Regions from separate parts of the Homo sapiens genome. Here all the other regions are linked to region 1. Evidence: promoter capture Hi-C in human tissues and cell types (Jung and others, 2019). All regions are on one chromosome and are shown on one strand. The core of a region is centred on a gene start or on the middle of the fragment in contact, and the rest is flanking DNA. Distances in the headings are between cores, read along the strand shown.

What was found. The method cuts DNA at HindIII sites, captures the fragments that hold promoters and counts their contacts. A contact is called where the count stands out against the background at its distance.
Region 2: a fragment that was not itself captured here is called in contact with the fragment with the promoter of TMEM121 in region 1 in 1 of the 25 tissues and cell types used here (lymphoblastoid cells).
Region 3: a fragment that was not itself captured here is called in contact with the fragment with the promoter of TMEM121 in region 1 in 1 of the 25 tissues and cell types used here (lymphoblastoid cells).
Region 4: a contact is called between a fragment that was not itself captured here and the fragment with the promoter of TMEM121 in region 1, in 1 of the 25 tissues and cell types used here (lymphoblastoid cells).
Region 5: a contact is called between a fragment that was not itself captured here and the fragment with the promoter of TMEM121 in region 1, in 1 of the 25 tissues and cell types used here (lymphoblastoid cells).
Region 6: a contact is called between a fragment that was not itself captured here and the fragment with the promoter of TMEM121 in region 1, in 1 of the 25 tissues and cell types used here (lymphoblastoid cells).

Annotation. Positions count from the first base shown.
Region 1 is chr14:105,525,177-105,528,155 of GRCh38, reverse strand. TMEM121 (transmembrane protein 121) reads right to left here and starts at 1,573. Exons shown (of 2, transcript NM_025268.4): 1 at 1,503-1,573. The HindIII fragment of the contact is 20,488 bases long and covers 1-2,979 here.
Region 2 is chr14:106,388,228-106,391,206 of GRCh38, reverse strand. It overlaps IGH and IGHV3-35. Among named protein-coding and RNA genes, the nearest start is that of LINC00221, 93 kb to the left of the region's middle. The HindIII fragment of the contact is 6,618 bases long and covers 1-2,979 here.
Region 3 is chr14:106,307,732-106,310,710 of GRCh38, reverse strand. It overlaps IGH and the pseudogene IGHVIII-26-1. Among named protein-coding and RNA genes, the nearest start is that of LINC00226, 22 kb to the right of the region's middle. The HindIII fragment of the contact is 7,257 bases long and covers 1-2,979 here.
Region 4 is chr14:106,281,842-106,284,820 of GRCh38, reverse strand. It overlaps IGH. Among named protein-coding and RNA genes, the nearest start is that of LINC00226, 4.3 kb to the left of the region's middle. The HindIII fragment of the contact is 4,391 bases long and covers 1-2,979 here.
Region 5 is chr14:106,165,519-106,168,497 of GRCh38, reverse strand. It overlaps IGH and IGHV3-16. Among named protein-coding and RNA genes, the nearest start is that of LINC00226, 120 kb to the left of the region's middle. The HindIII fragment of the contact is 8,876 bases long and covers 1-2,979 here.
Region 6 is chr14:106,125,360-106,128,338 of GRCh38, reverse strand. It overlaps IGH. Among named protein-coding and RNA genes, the nearest start is that of LINC00226, 160 kb to the left of the region's middle. The HindIII fragment of the contact is 3,613 bases long and covers 1-2,979 here.

The sequences.
Region 1 (2,979 bases), core at 324-2,823:
CCCCCACGCCCCTCCTCCCTGCACGGGCAGGCTCGGTCTCCCCTCCTGTCCACCATCCTGGGCGCGTGGCCACTGCCTGCCCTGCTCCCCATGGCTCCGCATTGCCTTGGCGAGGTGTTGTCCCCCACCCTCTGCCCCGGCAGAGCCACCCTGCTTTGCTCCTCTGCGCCAGGGCGATGCCTGTGGCTGCCCTCGAATCTCGGGAAGCCCGTCCACCAAGGCCCGTCGGGCTTCCACAGGCCCCTGCACCTCTGTCACACACCTGGCACTGGTCCTCATGGCCGTGCTGTCGGAGTCCCCGCACCTGGGCCTGTGCACACCTGGGTGACAATGGAGGCCCGCACACCCGCACCCACCCCAAAGTCACTGACAGGCTTACTCCCAGCCAGCCCCTCACCCCCTCCACAGCCCCAGGCCTGGGGCTCCGTTTACTGCCGTGTCTAGACAAAGGCATAAAATTTAATGTCCCCGTGACAGTCGGGCGCTCGGACTGCCCTGGTGACACCGCAGGCCCCACCGATCCGGGAAAGCGTTGAACTCTGCACTCCCACCCCTGCCCCCACCCAGCACCCGCCGCCCAGGATCCCCACAGCCACACACAGGACACCCCCACCCCTCGGAGCTCTGACAGGTCGCGAGGAGGGTGCCTTGAGGGTCCTCAGCCCATGCCCCTGCCTCCAAGCCTCCCCGCGCTCTGGGTCCCACCGGGACACTCACCCGGTTTTCACGTCCACTGGATCTACACGTCTGACCCAGGAAGCCCTCTCTGGGCCCATTCCAGGCCCACCTGGGCCTCCCCTAGCTGCAGCCGCAGCCTGAGAATTTCCTCCCTCTCCGCGCGTGGCGGGGCCAAATAAATAGCGGGGGAGCCACGGCGCCGCTCACCCTTTCCGGCCGTGCCTCCAGCCCCTCCGCCCCACTACGCTGTCGCTCGATCCTCAGTCACTTGGCAGATGCGGGCCGAGGGGCTCTGCGCTGGCGAAGGGACGGACTCCAGCCCCTAGCGGAGCCCCTACCCCGGCAAGCCAGAGCCCGGCCCGGCCACCTCTCCGTAGGGACCTGGCCCCAGGCCCACCTGTCCTGGGTCTCCTGGGCCCCGGCCGAGGCCCCTCCTCCCCCCACGCCCCGCGGCTCAGACCTGGCACAGACTCTGGGGCCTCCAGGCCCTTCACTGCCCGGGCCCCGCAAGGACCCTCGCCCCATAACCACCCCTCGGAGCCCCCGGGAGGAGGGGCGGGAGGGGGCTGCTGTGCTCCCGCCGCGGGCCGGTGCAGAGCTTGGGCCGCTCCCAGCAGGCTGCGTCTCTGCTTGTCCCCCCGAGGCTTCCCCACGCAGGGCCGGGTCCCCGTCACCCCGCCGGCCCCAGGCCTCACCCCTGCCGCATCGGCCCCCGCCCCACCCCACAGTCCCCACGGCCCAGAGGTGCAGGGTCGCCCAGGCCCGCCGCCCCCTCCGCGGACGCAGCCGCGCACCCAGCCAGTCCCGCCCGCGCCCGCGCCTACCCCGCCGCCCGCAGATGCTGCGCCGCTCCCGGGCCCGCCCGCCCAGCCTCTGCCGCCACTGCCGGGGCCGCGCCGGCTCCTCCCGCCGCGCCCCTCCCCCGCCCGCGCGGCACCGCCCCCGACCCAGAGGCCCCGCCCCGCGCCCCTCGGCCCGCGAGCCCCGCCGGACCTGGGGACCTGGGAGCGCGGGGGTGCCGGTGCCCCGCCCCCTCCGCAGCGCCGGTTGCCACGGCGACAGCACCGCGCGGCGGCGCGCAGGACTGGTGGCTCTGGGGAGCGGGGCGCCCTCGCGCACCCCCAGGCGCGGAGTCCCGTCTCCACCCTCCTCACCCACCGCCCAGAATCCCAGGGTCCCGCCCAGTGCCCCCCGCGCCCTGAAACTCCGCTGCCGCCCCCTAGAGCGACCCCACTCAGCCGGACAGGCGCCCACCGGCCCAGGAGCTGACAGGGATGTAGGCGCGGGGCTGGCCTGGCCGCCGGGGCCCTCCGCGCCACCCTCTGTCCTCTTTGGGGAGAAACCCAGCCTTCCCAGGTTTCTTCTCAGGGCAGAGGAAAGGAATGATGAGCGGCCCCCACCTTCTTCTCCAGCCCGTCCAGGAGGCAAGCTAGGGTTTGGGGACTTGGGCTTCATTTTGTCACTGAGGTGGCACTAAGCCCCTCCCCCCACATCCTGTCCATCCCGTGTGAGCCAGAGAAGAACCCGAGGGCACCTTCTGCCTGCCTGCCCTCCTTCCCAGAACTGCTGTGACTTCCCTCTGACATAGGAGGAGACTGAGGGTCAGAGAGGTAAAGGGACACCAGATTTGGTGGAAAGACCAGAATTTGAGGCACCACCCAACTGGTAGTGAACTTCCAGATTCTCTTCCCGTATCCCCGGGCCTGGACTCAACACGGCCTGAAAGCCAGAAGAGGACAGAGAGCTCCAGAAGTTCTCTAGTCCTGGCACAAGGGGAGGAAAGAAAAAGGTCGCCTAATGCTCCCAGGGTGCAGGAGAATGCCCGGGGGGATGTTAGGGTTTGGGAGGATGGGGTTTTTTGGTAGTGGTTGTTTTTTTACTCTTCTCCATTCTCTGATGCCCCAGCCCCTAGGTATCCCACCAAAGCCATGACCAAGGCATAGGGTTTACAAGCACCTAAAACGCTGAGGCAGAAGAGCCTTCCTTTCCAGCCCCAGGAGATGTGGTCCCCTGTCGCTGGAGAGATGGTGGGCAGGGAGAAGCAGTAGAAAGCAATCCATGGGCTGGGCGTGGTGGCTCACACCTGTAATTCCAGCACTTTGGGAGGCCGATGTGGGCGGATTACCTGAGGTCGGGAGTTCGAGACCAGCCTGGCCAACATGGTGAAACCCCCATCTCTACTAAAAATATAAAAATTAGCCGGGCGTGGTGGCACACACCTGTAATCCCAGCTACTCGGGAGGCTGAAGCAGGAGAATTGCTTGAGTCCGGGAGATGGAGGTTGCAGTGAGCCGAGATCTT
Region 2 (2,979 bases), core at 201-2,700, 860 kb before region 1:
GTAAGCCAGGGGGATTTGTGAGGTGACACAGAGCAAGTGTGAGGTGACGTGGATGCATGTAAGGTGATTTGGGGCACATGTGAGGTGACGTGGGGGATATGTGTGAGCTGACCTCGGGTGAGTGTGAGGTGATCCAGGATGGATGTGAGGTGACCTGGGGGTGTGTGTGAGGTGACTTGGGCACATGTCAGGTGACATCGGGGATTGGTGGTGATGTGGGTGTGTGTGAGGTGACCTAAGGAGGTATGAGGTCACCTGGGGCATCTGTGGGGACCTGGAAATGTGTGAGGTGGGTACAGGTGAAGTCACCTAGGGCACATGTGAGGTGACCTGTGGAATGTGTATGGTGACCTGGGACCGTTTGAGGTGACATGGGGAATGCGTGAGGTGACCTGGGGCATGTGTGAGGTGACAAAGGGCATGTGTGCAGTGACCTGGGTGCATGTGAGGTGACCTGGTGCATGTGTTAGGTTACCTGGGGGATGTGTGAGGTGAACAGGGGCAGGTGTGAAGTGCCTGAGGAATGTGTGAGGTGAACTGGTGCATGTATGTGGTGACCTGGGGGATTTACGAGGTGACCTGCGGGATGTGTGAGGTGACCTTGGGTGAGCGTGAGGTGACCTGACGTATGTATGAGGTGACCAGGGTGTGTCTGAGGTGATGTGGGGTATATGTGCGGTGACCTGGGAAATGTTTGAGGTGACCTGGTGGATGTGTGAGGTGACCTGCAGGATGTGTAAGGTGACACTGGGGATGTGTGAGGTGACTCAGGGCACATGTGAGGTGAAATTGGGGATGCGTGAGGTGATTCAGGGCATATGTGAGGTGACCTTGGGGATGTGTGAGGTCACCTTGGGTGAGTGTGTGGTCATCTGGGATATTTCCCAACTTCGTAAGGAAAGCCTGCAACAACACATGGCATTAGAAGCTTCACACTCTAGCACCATTAATGCGTACATCCTCAAGGAACTCTAAATGTTTTGAGGTTAGCTTAAATGCCATGGAGCGGCACCTTCCCCAGGCACACTCATATATGCATCCTGGGTCTCCCTGCCAAGCTATATCTCCTCAAATTTACAGTTTATGTTTGCTCTGTGACATCAACTCTGATATGTTCAAGTGTGTTTTTTTTTCTTTATTTGTAGTTGTTCAGGCTTGTTGTTTCACTCTCATTACTCTGGGCTCAGTCCTCTCCTCAGGTGTCCCACTTCAGAGCTCGCTGTGAAATAGGAGACATGCAAATAGGGCCCCCCCTTTCCTGATAAAAAGCAGCCCAGTCCTGACCCTGCAGCCCTGGGAGAGAAGCACCAGCCCTGGGATTCTCAGGTGTTTCCACTTTGTCATCAGCAACAAACAAATTACCATGGAATTTGGGCTGAGCTGGGTTTTTCTTGCTGCTATTTTAAAAGGTGATTCATGAAGAACTAAGGATATTGAGTGAGTGGACATGAGTGAGAGAAACAGTGGATTTGTGTGGCAGTTTCTGACCAGGGTGTCTCTGTGTTTGCAGGTGTCCAGTGTGAGGTGCAGCTGGTGGAGTCTGGGGGAGGCTTGGTACAGCCTGGGGGATCCCTGAGACTCTCCTGTGCAGCCTCTGGATTCACCTTCAGTAACAGTGACATGAACTGGGTCCATCAGGCTCCAGGAAAGGGGCTGGAGTGGGTATCGGGTGTTAGTTGGAATGGCAGTAGGACGCACTATGCAGACTCTGTGAAGGGCCGATTCATCATCTCCAGAGACAATTCCAGGAACACCCTGTATCTGCAAACGAATAGCCTGAGGGCCGAGGACACGGCTGTGTATTACTGTGTGAGAAACACTGTGAGAGGTCGGAAGTGTGAGCCCAGACACAAACCTCCTGCAGGAACGTTGGGGGAAATCAGCTGCAGGGGGCGCTCAGGACCCACTCATCAGAGTCAACCCCAGAGCAGGTGCACATGGAGGCTGGGGTTTGTTTCCTGTCAGGATTTGGGACTTCCTCTGCTTCTGACAGTTTCTCTAGGGAAACTCTTTAATTTTAGATTTCTGTGCCCACCAATGTCATCTCTACATTTTTTTAATCATTGTATATGAGGACTCGTTCTCACATGCACAATATGTATATTGCCACCTATGGGAATGAAAGGTCCTCAACCATGGTCACCAGCATCAGAGTCGTGAGGAAGCTCAGGGGTGCCTGGTGAGTCTTCTCCAGTCAGACTCAGGACAGTAACCTCAAGGGGATTCCCTTGTGAGAACTCACACATTTTCATGAGAACAGCACCAGGAGTCAGTTCTAAACCATTCATGAAAGACCCACTCCATGACCCAGTCACCTCCCACCAGGTCACCCCTTCACAACTGGGGATTATAATACAACATGAGATTTGGGGCAGGACACAAATCCAAACCATATCAGATACACATTGTGAAATACGCATGGTGGTCAGGTAATTTGTATTTCTATCACCTCACAGCGCTACCATTTTATTATTTTTTTTAATTTACTGCATGAGTGAGTGTCTGATGAGAACACCTAAGATCTACCCTTTCAGCAACAATCATTTTTACAATACAGTATTAACTATAGGACCATTGCTGTACGTTAGATCTCCAGAACTCATCCAACCTGCACAACTGAAACTCTGTACAATTTAACACACATCACCCAATTTCCCTCACCTCCCAGGTCCTGGGACCCACTATTCTACTCTCTGCTTTCAAGAGCTTGAATATTTTAGATCCCACATGTAAATGAGATCATGCAGCATTTGTCTTTCTGCATCTGGCTTATTCAACTCAGCATCATGTCCTCCAGGCCCATCCGTGTTGTTGCAAATGTCAGAATTTCCCTCTTTTCAAAGCCAAACAAAATACAGATGTATGTATACACATTTTCTTTATACATTCATCCATTTACAGTCATTAAATTATTTTACAAATCTACACTATTATTAATAATCTTGCAATGAACATGTCTTTGGCAAAGTAATTTTATTT
Region 3 (2,979 bases), core at 240-2,739, 780 kb before region 1:
GCAAATAACCCACAGGATTATTTTCTTTCCTTGATTGAGAAAGATTTTCCCCAAACTTCAGCTCAGTTCAGGCATATACTGTCCCTAAATGGGCATTTACCCTCAGATGAGTCCACACACCTGTCAACACGTGGAGTCTTCTGTCAGACAAACACACCTTTACTGATGTGGATTCTTCCCTCAGACAAAAACACATGTCCCCACATGGACACTTTCCTCAGACTACCATGTATGTCCTTACATTTACGCTTTCCTCAGAAAACAGACTTTTCCTCATGTGGACTCTTGTCTCAGACAAGCAAATATGTCTCCATGTGAACTCTTCACTCAGATAAGTACACATATGTCCACATTTACTGTTTCCTTACACAGGCACATATATTCAATGTTGAATTGTTTTGTGGCAAAATGATCTCAAGATAATGGTAATTATAAATCCCCTCCCTAATAAAGTGTAGATCTGTATTTTTTTTGTTGTAACCTAACTTTGCCTTATTGTCAAAAACAGTAATTTGCAGCTCTAAATGCACCAGTTAGAGACAGGTGTCCATTTTCTCTGGAAATGTATTTTTATTTTCTTACTGGACATATTTGTTGATAATGTTGCTACTATGAAGATACCTGAACAGTATCCACATTAAAGAATAAAAAAGAGTAATGGGCAGAATAACCCTGTGCATCCAGACCCAGAAATCCTTTGACCCTGCCCTCCCGAAATGTAGACACAGAGGATGGATGAGCAGTGCTGAGCAGTGTACCCATGACCACAAACATGAAGACATGGAAATGTGTCCCCACTCCTCCTCATGAAAGGCAGCTCATGCCCTCTTCCTTCAGGCCCTGGTATGGAGCCACCCCATGTCTCTGCCCTTCCTTAGTGTCCACACCATGGGGTCTGCACTGATCTGGATTCCCTTCTCATCCCCCTCAATATTAGTGTGCCTTGTGAATCAGGTCCAGCTGTGGCTGTTCTCAGTCTGTTTCCTCTGTATTCACAGAAGTCCTGTGTGATGTTTACTGATGGAGTCAGAAGGAGAAAAATTTAACAGCCCAGCAGTTCACTGAGACTGTCCTGCAAAGCCTCTGGTTTCGGGTTTACTGGGTGCAGCATGAGCTTGGTCCAGCACACTTCACAACAGGAATTGGTGTGGGTAGCAACAGTGAGAGATCATATGGGAGTTCTAAGGGTTACTCTCCATGAGTACAGATAAATCAACATTCCCAAGTGACACCCTTTCAAGTGCAGTCTACCTTACAAGGACCAACCTGAAAGCCAAGGGCAAGGCCGTATATTACAGTGAGGGACACAGGGGAGGGAAGATCTGTCTGAGCCCAGACACAAAAATCTCTGCAGAGAGACAGGAGGGAACTGCGTGGTAGATGCTGCTCAGAACCACCATGGGGTGGCCAGGAAACAAGGGGTGCTTAGGACCTCTAGGGAGCGCTCAGGACGCCAGGGGGGTGCTCAGAACCACTAGGGGACGCTCAGGACACTAGGTGGCGCTCAAGACAACACTACTGCACTCATGTCACCACGGGGTACTCAGAACCACCAGGGGGCGCTCAGAACCACCAGGGGGCGCTCAGAACCACCAGGTGGCGCTCAGCACCACCAGGGGGCGCTCAGGACACCAGGGGGCGCTCAGAAACACTCGGGGACGCTCAGGACAAGAGGGGGTACTCAGAACCAACAGGGGGCGCTCAGGACCACCAATGGGTGCTCAGAACCACAAGGGGGCGCTCAGGACATAGGTGGTGCTAAAGACAACAATTCTGGGCTCAGGTCACCAGGGGGCGCTCAGAACCACCAGGGGACGCTCAGGACATGCAGGTTCTCTTAGGAGGCAGCTGCACATCAGGAGCTTCAGAGGCTGTGATTTCCTTTCAGACCCTGGAAATTCCTGACCTGGTCAAGCAAAAGTCTTCCCCAGGATGTCTGATTTTTCCTTTTAATTCCATGATTTCTTTTACCTACAAAACACTAACTTAGAACAGGGATGTAATGCAACTTTTATTGCTGCGTATTTTCTGAGTAATACTAGCAATGATCTCTCGGGACAATTATTAAAATAGGTTATTTATATATTTTAATTATTAAAAATAATACTATTATTAAAATAGTAAAATTTTTTAAATCACACTTGTAATCCCAGCACTTGGGGAGACTGAGGCAGACAGATTACTTGAGCTCAGGAGTTTTAGAACAGCCTGGCAACATGGTGAGATGCTTTCTATACATAAAAGAAGAAATAGCTGAGATTGGTGCAACCAGCTACTTAAAAGGCTGAGGAGGGAGGATTCCTTAAGCCTGGGAGGTTGAGGCTGCAGTGAGCTATGATTGTGCCTCCACACACCAGCCTTGGTGACAGAGTGAGACCCTGTCTTAGAAAAAAAAATGCATATCCTCAATACAGACTATTTCCATGAATAGAGTTTTGTGTTTTTGTGCTGTAATAGTCAAACAATTGTATATGTTTTCTAACTTTAACTCAGCATATGCATGGTGTTTTGTTTCTTTTTCTTTCATCTGCTGTTTGTGGAAAATAAACAGCACTTTAAAGGCTCTGTTTCTCCACTTTGTTTGGCTTCCAGTGTCCTGTTTTTCAGACTGTTTCTCCACCTTCCCTTCTTCTTTGAAAGCCATTTATCTTCCTCAGTCTCCATGCAGAAAAAGAAAGTCCCTTTACTTTCTGTCTTCCAAGTCTGGTGAATCAGTTCCCTTCTTTTCATAATCACTGAAGCCAACCAAGTTTAGAAGTATAACAGTTCTCCTTAGAATACGCTCATCTACCTGCACTCTCTGCCCTCCTCATCCTTTTCTAGGTCCCTCCAGACATCACCCTCATCCCATACCCTCCCTTCCTTAAGTACCACAGAGTGGGCTCTTCACCTCCTGCTGCCCTCTATGTGCTCAGCCCTGGGGCTCACTAGTCCTTTGATTATGAAGTCCAAATCCCTATGTGCTTGCACACTCTCACG
Region 4 (2,979 bases), core at 157-2,656, 760 kb before region 1:
TATAGGTTTAAGGTGCCCCACTTGACGTTTTGATGTTGTATTAGTCCATTCTCACGGTGCTATAAAAAATGCCTGAGACTGAGGGATTTGAGAAAAAAAGTGTGTTTAATTGGCTCACGGTTCTGCAGGCTGTACAGGAAGTGTAGTGGCTTCTCCTTCTGGGGAGAGTCAGGAAAGTTAGGATCATGGCAGAAGACAAAGGGGAGCAGGTGCGTCACATGGCCAGACCAGGAGCCACAGGAAGCAGGGAAGGTCTACACACTGTTAGGCAACTAGATCTTATGAGAACTCACACACTGTCATGAGAACAGCACCAGGAGTTTGTTCTAAACCATTCATGAAAGACCCACCCCATGTCCCAGTCATCTCCCACCAGGTCCCACCTTCACAATTGAGGATTATAATACAACATGAGATTTGGGGCAGGACACAGATCCAAACCACATCAGATACACATTGTGAAATGCTCATCATGGCCAAAGTAATTTGTATATCCATTTTCTCATGGAGCTACCATTTTATTTTTTTAAAATGTACTACATGTGTGTGTATGTGTGTGTGTCTCATGAGAACACCTACGATCTACCCGTTTAGCAAAAATCACATTTACAATACAGCATTAAATACAAGAACATTGCAGTACATTAGATCTGCAGAACTCATTCACCCTGCACAACTGGACCTCTACCCTTCGACCGACATCATCTGATTTCCCTCTCCTCACAGGCCTGGGACCCACTATTCTACTCTCTGCTTTCAAGAGCTTGAATATTTTAGATCCCACATGTAAATGAGATCATTAAGTCTTTCTGCATCTGGCTTATTCCACTAAGCATCATGTCCTCTAGCCCCATCCCTGTTGTTGCAAATGTCAGAATTTCCTTCTTTTCAAAGCCTAATAAAATTCAGTTTTCTGTGTACACATTTTCTTTACACATTCATCAATCTGTGGTCATTAAATTATTTTACAAATCTACACTATTATAAATAATCTTGCAGTGAACATGTGTTTGACATAATAATTTTATTTCTTTTGAATATATGACAAGAAGTGGGATCACCAGAGCATATGATAGCTTTATTTTTCAATATAATGAATAACCAAACCTACCACACCATGCTTTTGAAGTCTTAGTCATATTTTATTTGCCTAGGCCAATGTCCCGAAAAATTTCTCCTACATTTTCTTCAGTTTGTACATTTAAATATTGAATCCATATTCAATTAATTTTTGTCTATGGTGAAAAACTAGAAGTCTAGTTTTATTCTTCTATGTGTGGCTGTCTAAGTTTTTCAGCACCACTTACTGAATAGAGGGTTGTTTCTCCATTGCATATTTTTGTCAGTTTTGTCAAAGAACAGGTGGTTGTAGAAACTTGTCTTTATTTCTTGGCTGTCTATTCTTTTACATTATTATTATTGTTATTGTTTTTAGTAGCAGTACCATGCTGTCTTTCTTACTGTATCTGTGTAGTATAATTTGAAATCAGGGAATGTGGTGCTTTCAGCTTTGGTCTTTTTCCTTGGGATTTCTTTTGCTATTCAGGCTGTTTTTTGATTCCATATATATTTAAGGATTTTTTTTAAAACATGTAATCAATTATATTGGTTACTTGATAAAAATTGCATTGAATATGTATCTTGCTTTGGACAGTGTATTAGTCTACTGTGCATTGCTATAAATTAATGCCTGAGGCCAAGTGATTTACAAAGAAAAGAGGCTTATTTGGCTTACAGTTTTGGAGGCTGTGTGAGAAGCATGGCACCAGCATCTGCTTCTTGTGAGGGCCTCAGGAAGCTTACGGTCATGGTGGAAGGCAAAGGGGAAGCAGGCAGTGTCCTGTGGTGAGAGGGGGCACAGAAGAGGGGAGGAGGGTCGCTAGACTGTTTTTAACAATCAGATTTCAAATTAGCTAATAAAGAAATAATTCACTAATTACCATGGGGTTGATACCAAGCCATACCTGAAGGATCTTTTCCCCACAATCCAAAAACTCCTACTAGGACCCACCTCAAATATTTTGGATCACATTTCACCGTGAGATTTGGAAGGGACAATCACCTAAACTGTAGCATTTCACTCTTGTGTCCCCTGGTCTCAAATCCTTGTAAGATTGCAAAATCATCTTTTTTAAAAATAGTTCCCAAAAGTGTTAACTTGATCAACCTCCAACTGAAAATTACAAAGTCTCGCCAGGGTCTTAAGGCAATTTCCCTCCAGCTGCGTGCTGGCAAAATGTTTTAAAGAGTTATGTACTTCCAAGGTGCAATATTGCCATTGGGTAAATATTGTCAATACAAAAGGAATAAATTGGCCAAAGGCCCCACACACACCTAAAGCCTAGCAGGACAGATATTAAATCTTAAAGCTACAAAATAATCTATCTTGACTTTATGTTCTTAGTCAGGGTACACCAGGACAAAGTGGGTCCCAAAATCCTCAGGCATCTCATCCTTATGGCTGGGCACATTCCATGGGGCTAATAACACAGGCCAGAGTCAAGTGCCAGAAGTAGTTCCAGGTTGGGAGTACAAGCTGCCTTTGGATCTACCATTCTGGGATCTTGAGGGTTGTGGCTGCATTTCTGTAGCTCCACTGTGAAGTGCCCTAGTGGGGACTCTGAATGGGGTTCCAACCCCATCTTTCCCCATCTTTGGTACTGCCTTCGTAGAGGTTGTTTGTGGTGGATCCAGTCCTGTAGCAAGCTTCCTCCTGGGCACATAGGGTTCTCTACACATCTTCTGAAATCTAGGTAGAAACTGCCCAGCCTCCTTCACTCTTGCATTCTGCATATCTGCCAGAATCCAGTTATCCCAGCACCATTTACTGAACACAGAGTATTTTTTCCACATTGTTTGTTTTTGTCAGCCTTATGAAGTATCAGACGGTTTAGGTGTGCAGCTTTATTTCTGTTTCCTATTTTGTTCCGTTTCTTCTGCATATCTGCTCTTGTACCAGTACCAAGCTGTTTTTGTTAC
Region 5 (2,979 bases), core at 287-2,786, 640 kb before region 1:
ATCATTAAATGACATAGTTATATTAATCTTGGCCAGGCATGGTGGCTCAAGCCTGTAATCCCAGCACTTTGGGAATCTTAGGCAGGCAGATCACCTGGGGTCAAGGGTTTGAGACCAGCCTGGTCAACAGGGTAAAACCCCGTCTCTACTAAAAATACAAAAATTAGCCAGGTATTGTGGCACAAGCCTTTAGTCCCAGTGTGGCAGGGAAATGTGGGGTCGGAAATCCCACACAGAGTTTCTACTGGTGTACCACCTAGTGGAGCTGTAAGAAGAAAGCCACTGCCCTCCAGAACCCAGAATGGTAGATCCACTGACAGCTTGCACCATGTTTCTGGAAAAACCACATACCCTCAATGCCAGCTCGTGAAAGCAGCCAGGAGGGAGACTGTGCCCTGCAAAAGTTTTTTAAAACTTTTCATTTGAAAAGTTTTAAAAAAGTTCTGTCACAGGGGCAGAACTTCCCAAGACCATGTGAACCCACTTGTTACATCAGGTAACCTGGATTTGAGACATGGAGTCAAAGAAGATTATTTTGGAACATTAAGATTTGACTTCCCAGCTGGATTTCAGACTTGCATGGGACCTGTAGTTTGGACCAATTTCTCCATTTGGAATGGCTGTATTTACACAATGCCTGAACTCCCATTCTTTCTAGGAAGTAACTGACTTGGTTTTTATTTTACAGGCTCATAGATGGAAGAGACTTGCCTCATCTCAAATGAGACCTTGGACTGTGGACTTTTGAGTTAAGGCTCAAATGAGTTAAGACTTTGGCGGACTCTTGAACAGGCATGATTGGTTTTGAAATGCGATAGCAATCATGACTCTAGAGGACCACACGTGAAGTGCAACAAGCAGGCGCAGAAGACAAGTGATTCGTGATTTCACTGTAGTTTGTTTAAATGGTAGACTCACAGAAGTAGAATAGAATGTTGGTTACCAGGGGCTGGAGGGGTGGACTGGAAAAGGAGAGATTGTGGTCAAAGTGTAAAATGTTCCAGTTAGACAGAAGGAGTAAGTTACAGTGTTCTAATGCACAAGATGGAAAATATGGCTGTGAATGCATTATATATTTCAAAATGGCTAAACATGCAAATGTTAAAATTTTTTCCCACTAAGAAATTATACAGGTCGGGAGCGGGGGCTCACACTTGTAAACCCAGCACTTTCGGAGGCCGAGGTGGGTGGATCACAAGGTCAGGAGTTCAAGACCAGACTTGCCAAGATGGTGAAACCCTGTCTCCACTAAAAACACAAAAATTAGCCAGGCGTGGTGTTCACCACAGGAGAATTGCTTGAAGCAAAGGCTGCAGTGAGCCAAGATCGTACCACTGCACTCCAACCGGGGTGACAGAGTGAGACTCAGTCTCAAAAAAAAAAAGAAATACATTTATGAGGTGCTGGATATGTTAAATAGCTTGATTAACAATTCCATAATGTATGCATGTATGATAGCATGTGTGAATGGACCTGTATGAAGGTGAGGTGCCCTGGTCACGTGACAGTGAGGTGACTTGGGGGAGGTGTAAGGTTACCTGGGGGTATGTGTGCAGTGAACTTGGGCACATGTGAGGTGACCCAGGGTGCATGTGTGGTGGCCTGGGTGCGTGTGAGGTTACCTGGACATGTATGAGGTGACATGGGGAATTCGTGAGGTGACTTGGATATGTATGATGTGACCTCAGGCATGTGTGAGGTGACCTGGCGGACGTGTGAGGTGACCTGGGGGACGTGTGAGGTGACATGGGGAATGTGTGAGGTGACCTGGGGGAATGTGTGAGGTGACCTGGGAGCATTCGAGGTGACGTGGGGGGTGTGTGAGCTTAGCAGGAGTGTGTGTGAGGTGACATGGGGTATATGTGAGGTGACCCCCCTGACGTGTGAGGTGACCTGAGCACATGTGAGGTCACCTAAGGCACATCTGAGTTGACCTGGGGGATGTGTGAGGTGACCTAGGGAAATGTATGAGCTGACAAAGGGCATGTGTGCAGTGACCTGGGTGCATGTGAGGTGACCTGGTGCATGTGTTAGTTTACCTGGGGGATGTGTGAGGTGAACAGGGGCAGGTGTGAAGTGCCTGAGGAATGCATGAGGTGACCTGGTGCATGTGTGTGGTGACCTAGCAGATTTACGAGGTGACCTGCGGGATGTGTGAGGTGAATAGGGACTTGTGTGAGGTGGCCACAGGAATGTGTGAGGTGACCTGGGGGATGTGTAAGGTGACATTGGGGATGTGTGAGGTGACTCAGGGCACATGTGAGGTGACCTGGGGGATGTGCAAGGTCACCTTGGGTGAGTGTGAGGTGACCTTGGGGATGTGCAAGGTCACACTGTGTGAGTGTGAGGTCATCTGGGATATTTCAAACTTCGTAAGGAAAGCCTGCAACAGTATATGGCACTAAAAGCTTCACACTCCAACACCGTTAATGCGCACATCCTCAAGGAACTCTAAGTGTTTCCAGGTTAGCTTAAATGCCATGGAGCGACACCTGCCCCAGGCACACTCATATATGCATCCTGGGTCTCCCTATCAACCCCTATCCTCAAATTTTCAGTTTATGTTTGCTCCATGATATCAACTCTGATATGTTGAAGGTTTTTTTTTTTCTTTTATTTGTAGTTGTTCAGGTTTGCTATTTCACTCTCATTACTCTGGGCTCAGTCCTCTCCTCAGGTGTCCCACTTCAGAGCTTGCTATATAATAGGAGACATGCAAATAGGACCCTCCCTTTTCTGATGAAAAGCAGCGCAGCCCTGACCCTGCAGCCCTGGGAGAGAAGCCCCAGCCCTGGGATTCTCAGGTGTTTCTATTGGGTCAACAGCAATAAACAAATTACCATGGAATTTGGGCTGAGCTGGGTTTTTCTTGCTGGTATTTTAAAAGGTGATTCATGGAGAACTAAGGATATTGAGTGAGTGGACATGAGTGAGAGAAACAGTGGATATGTGTGGCAGTTTCTGACCAGGGTGTCTCTG
Region 6 (2,979 bases), core at 307-2,806, 600 kb before region 1:
GAAAATCCTCTCAAAACAATTTATGCAACCCACCTCATTTTCACTCATAAACCTATGGATTGACATCCTGGAGCCACTGCTGCATTTGTTGTTAATGGTAATTAGCCCCTTTTACAATATTTGTGACTGTTTTTCTCCGATGTCTCTTGGAAAATAAATAATTTACAAGCTGATGGCAGTAAAGAAACTATTTAGGACATTTTTAACATCCTGTTGAATATTTCTGCATAGCACATCGGTCCCCTAAAATACTTCGCTGTATTGGCATGTGATGAATCAGAGTATAATGCTGAAGGTAAAATGGGAAATACATGGGCTTTTGATGAATCAAGTCATAGGGTGAGAATGTCTGTGTCCTTGAGGAAGGAGACCTTGGGCTGTAAGTTCTAGTGGGAGTACCTTTGGCAAAGGGATTTCATGAGTTTCTGAACGTTATGCTACTTTTAATTTAAGAATGCAACTTATCATTTATTTTTACTTAAATCTTTCCAGAAGATATTTGGCAGTAAGGACAGGGTAGCATTCGTGTGATACTGATGACTTAGAGAGTTATTTTGTAATTTCTCCTGTAAGGTATGCACATTGCTCACTTGATACAGAAGTTCAAATGTCACAGGCGGGAAAATAGGAATAAAGCAAATTTTATTAAATGTCACGACTGTAGTTTTTGGCAAGGAAGTGCTTCATGTCAACCTGAAAATAGACAGACAACAATAAAACATATTCAAATCCAAAGGGAGTCAGACCTATGTCCCTCTCTCTTATAAGTACAAGGCTTTGCCACATCCAAAATATCCTTTAGGCTCCAGGGTATAAAATGCTTTTGGACTGTGAAGCTAACAGCTCTCCCCTCAGACAGGGATAAGGCATCTGGGGAATGCAGAGTTGTGTTCATGAAGAAGATGGCATTACTGTGTCTTCTCCTGTGCCTGGTGATGGCTCCCCCAGGGTGAGTGTCTCAGATGTCAGATGTGGGTCTATGGGGTGAGTGTAGGTACATGTGACTGACGGGGACTGATTCCCCATGTATTCACATGCCCTGTCCCAGGAGCAGCTGCAGGAGTCAGCCCTGGACCTGAAGAGCACACACTTACCCTCTGCTTCACCTACACCATTTCTGGCCACTCCATCACAACCAGTCCTTACTACTGGACCTGGATCTGCCAGCTCTCAGGGAGGGGCTGCAATGGATACAATGCATTGCTAGTGGTGGTGGGAATCCGTTTGTCTTGTGGAAAATGGCAGCATCTCTTTATTTTATAAGGCAGAATAATGTTATATTGTGTACACATACCACATTGTCTTTATCCATTTGTCCATCGACAGACACTTAGTTTCCATATCTTGGCTGTTGTGAATAGCGCTGCAGTAAGCACAGGAGAGCAGGTATCTTCACAGGGTGGTAATTTCATCCCATTTAGGTGTATTTCCATAAGCTGGATCGCTGGTCATATGGTATTTCAGTTTTAATTTATTTAGAAGCCACCACACTGTTTTGCATAATGGTAATGATGGGAATGTAGAATGTCATAGCCGCTACGAAGAACAGTTTTAGATTTGAGGTATAATCCAAAAGCAAATAATGTTTGATCATGGTTCTCATATGAGGCTCTAATAAATCTAGTGGAAGTCCAGAAAGTTTTCCCACCTTGGGCAAGGATGAGTTTGCCCCTAATTGTCTTTGAGGCAGAATATTTGCAGAATGTGAGATGGAGTATGTCGGCAGGATTCAGGATGATTCAGCCATAAATAGTAATGGCACAGAAAAACAGGGAGTTAGAGACATGCAGAGAAAGAAAGAGATAGAGAGAATATGAATCTCATAAGAGGAAAATCTGCTGGATATCAGTGTTGGGTTTTCATTCATAGAGACATCAGTGTCAGCAAGAAACCATGAAGTCAAGTGAGGAGTGGAGAACATGTTCAGTCTGAAAATCAGCATATTCTCAGAGGCACCCATTGTCCCATGACACAGGCAGAGAATTTCGGAAACCAGTGAAGTGGGAGTTCACAATAAGTGATGAAGTTATCATTTTTCCAAACTTTCATTAATATGCAAAGTATTTCTATAGATCACTCATGCACATACACACAAAATGTGTTTTTGCATTTATGGGTGTCTAGAGAAAAATAAGTGAGAAAATTTTTCCAGGTTGCAGAGATCTGTTTAAGTTATAGATTCCACAGGAGAGTGTCTTTGAATGAATACTATTCTATTAATTAAATAGGACAAAATTCCCTCTGTTGGAGCAGCCTTCCAATTATGTAGATTTCTTTATTGCTTCTTGAGTTGTGAAACATAAACCCAAGGATTGACTTACTGGAATTCGAGTGCTGTGTTGATAAAATTTCTGATAAGTTTTCTTCCAATGATTTGAGAATAGCTTTCCTGTTTTTTTACTCAAGGAAATGAATTTTCACAAGGTTTCAGGACATCACGTTTCAGGTGTTTTACTTAAAGAGACTCTTCCTGGGTGCAGTCAGCTTTCTTCTAACCATGAGCTCACTTCTTCAGCAAACCATTCAGTTTGTGCCTCTATTAAGAATTATGAAGCTTTTAAACTTCAATGCACTGAAAATCATGCCCCTTGAATTAAATGTTGATTGGCACTGACATGAATTGTCCACTCTTGGATATGTGTCCTATGTTATGGGCTCAACATATCAGTGGACTGAGAATCCTCCATTAGCTGCCTCTGACTGTGGCACTGACCAGATTGAGAATCCTCAGAGTCATCCATGAAAAAGAGAGTCTTTAGGTTCATGGGGTTTTTGGAGACATTCAGGTGAGTGGAGGGGAGAAACAGGACTGGGGGTGGCCAGCCATTTCAACAAGACTGGGAAAGATTAGCATCTAAGTTTAAAGGTCTACATCATTCCAAACACCCTGCATGACAGGCTGACAGGAAGAAATCCAACCCCACAGCGGCTCCATAGCATCTCTTTAGTATACTTGGTAGTGAAGCTGTTTCAGGGAAG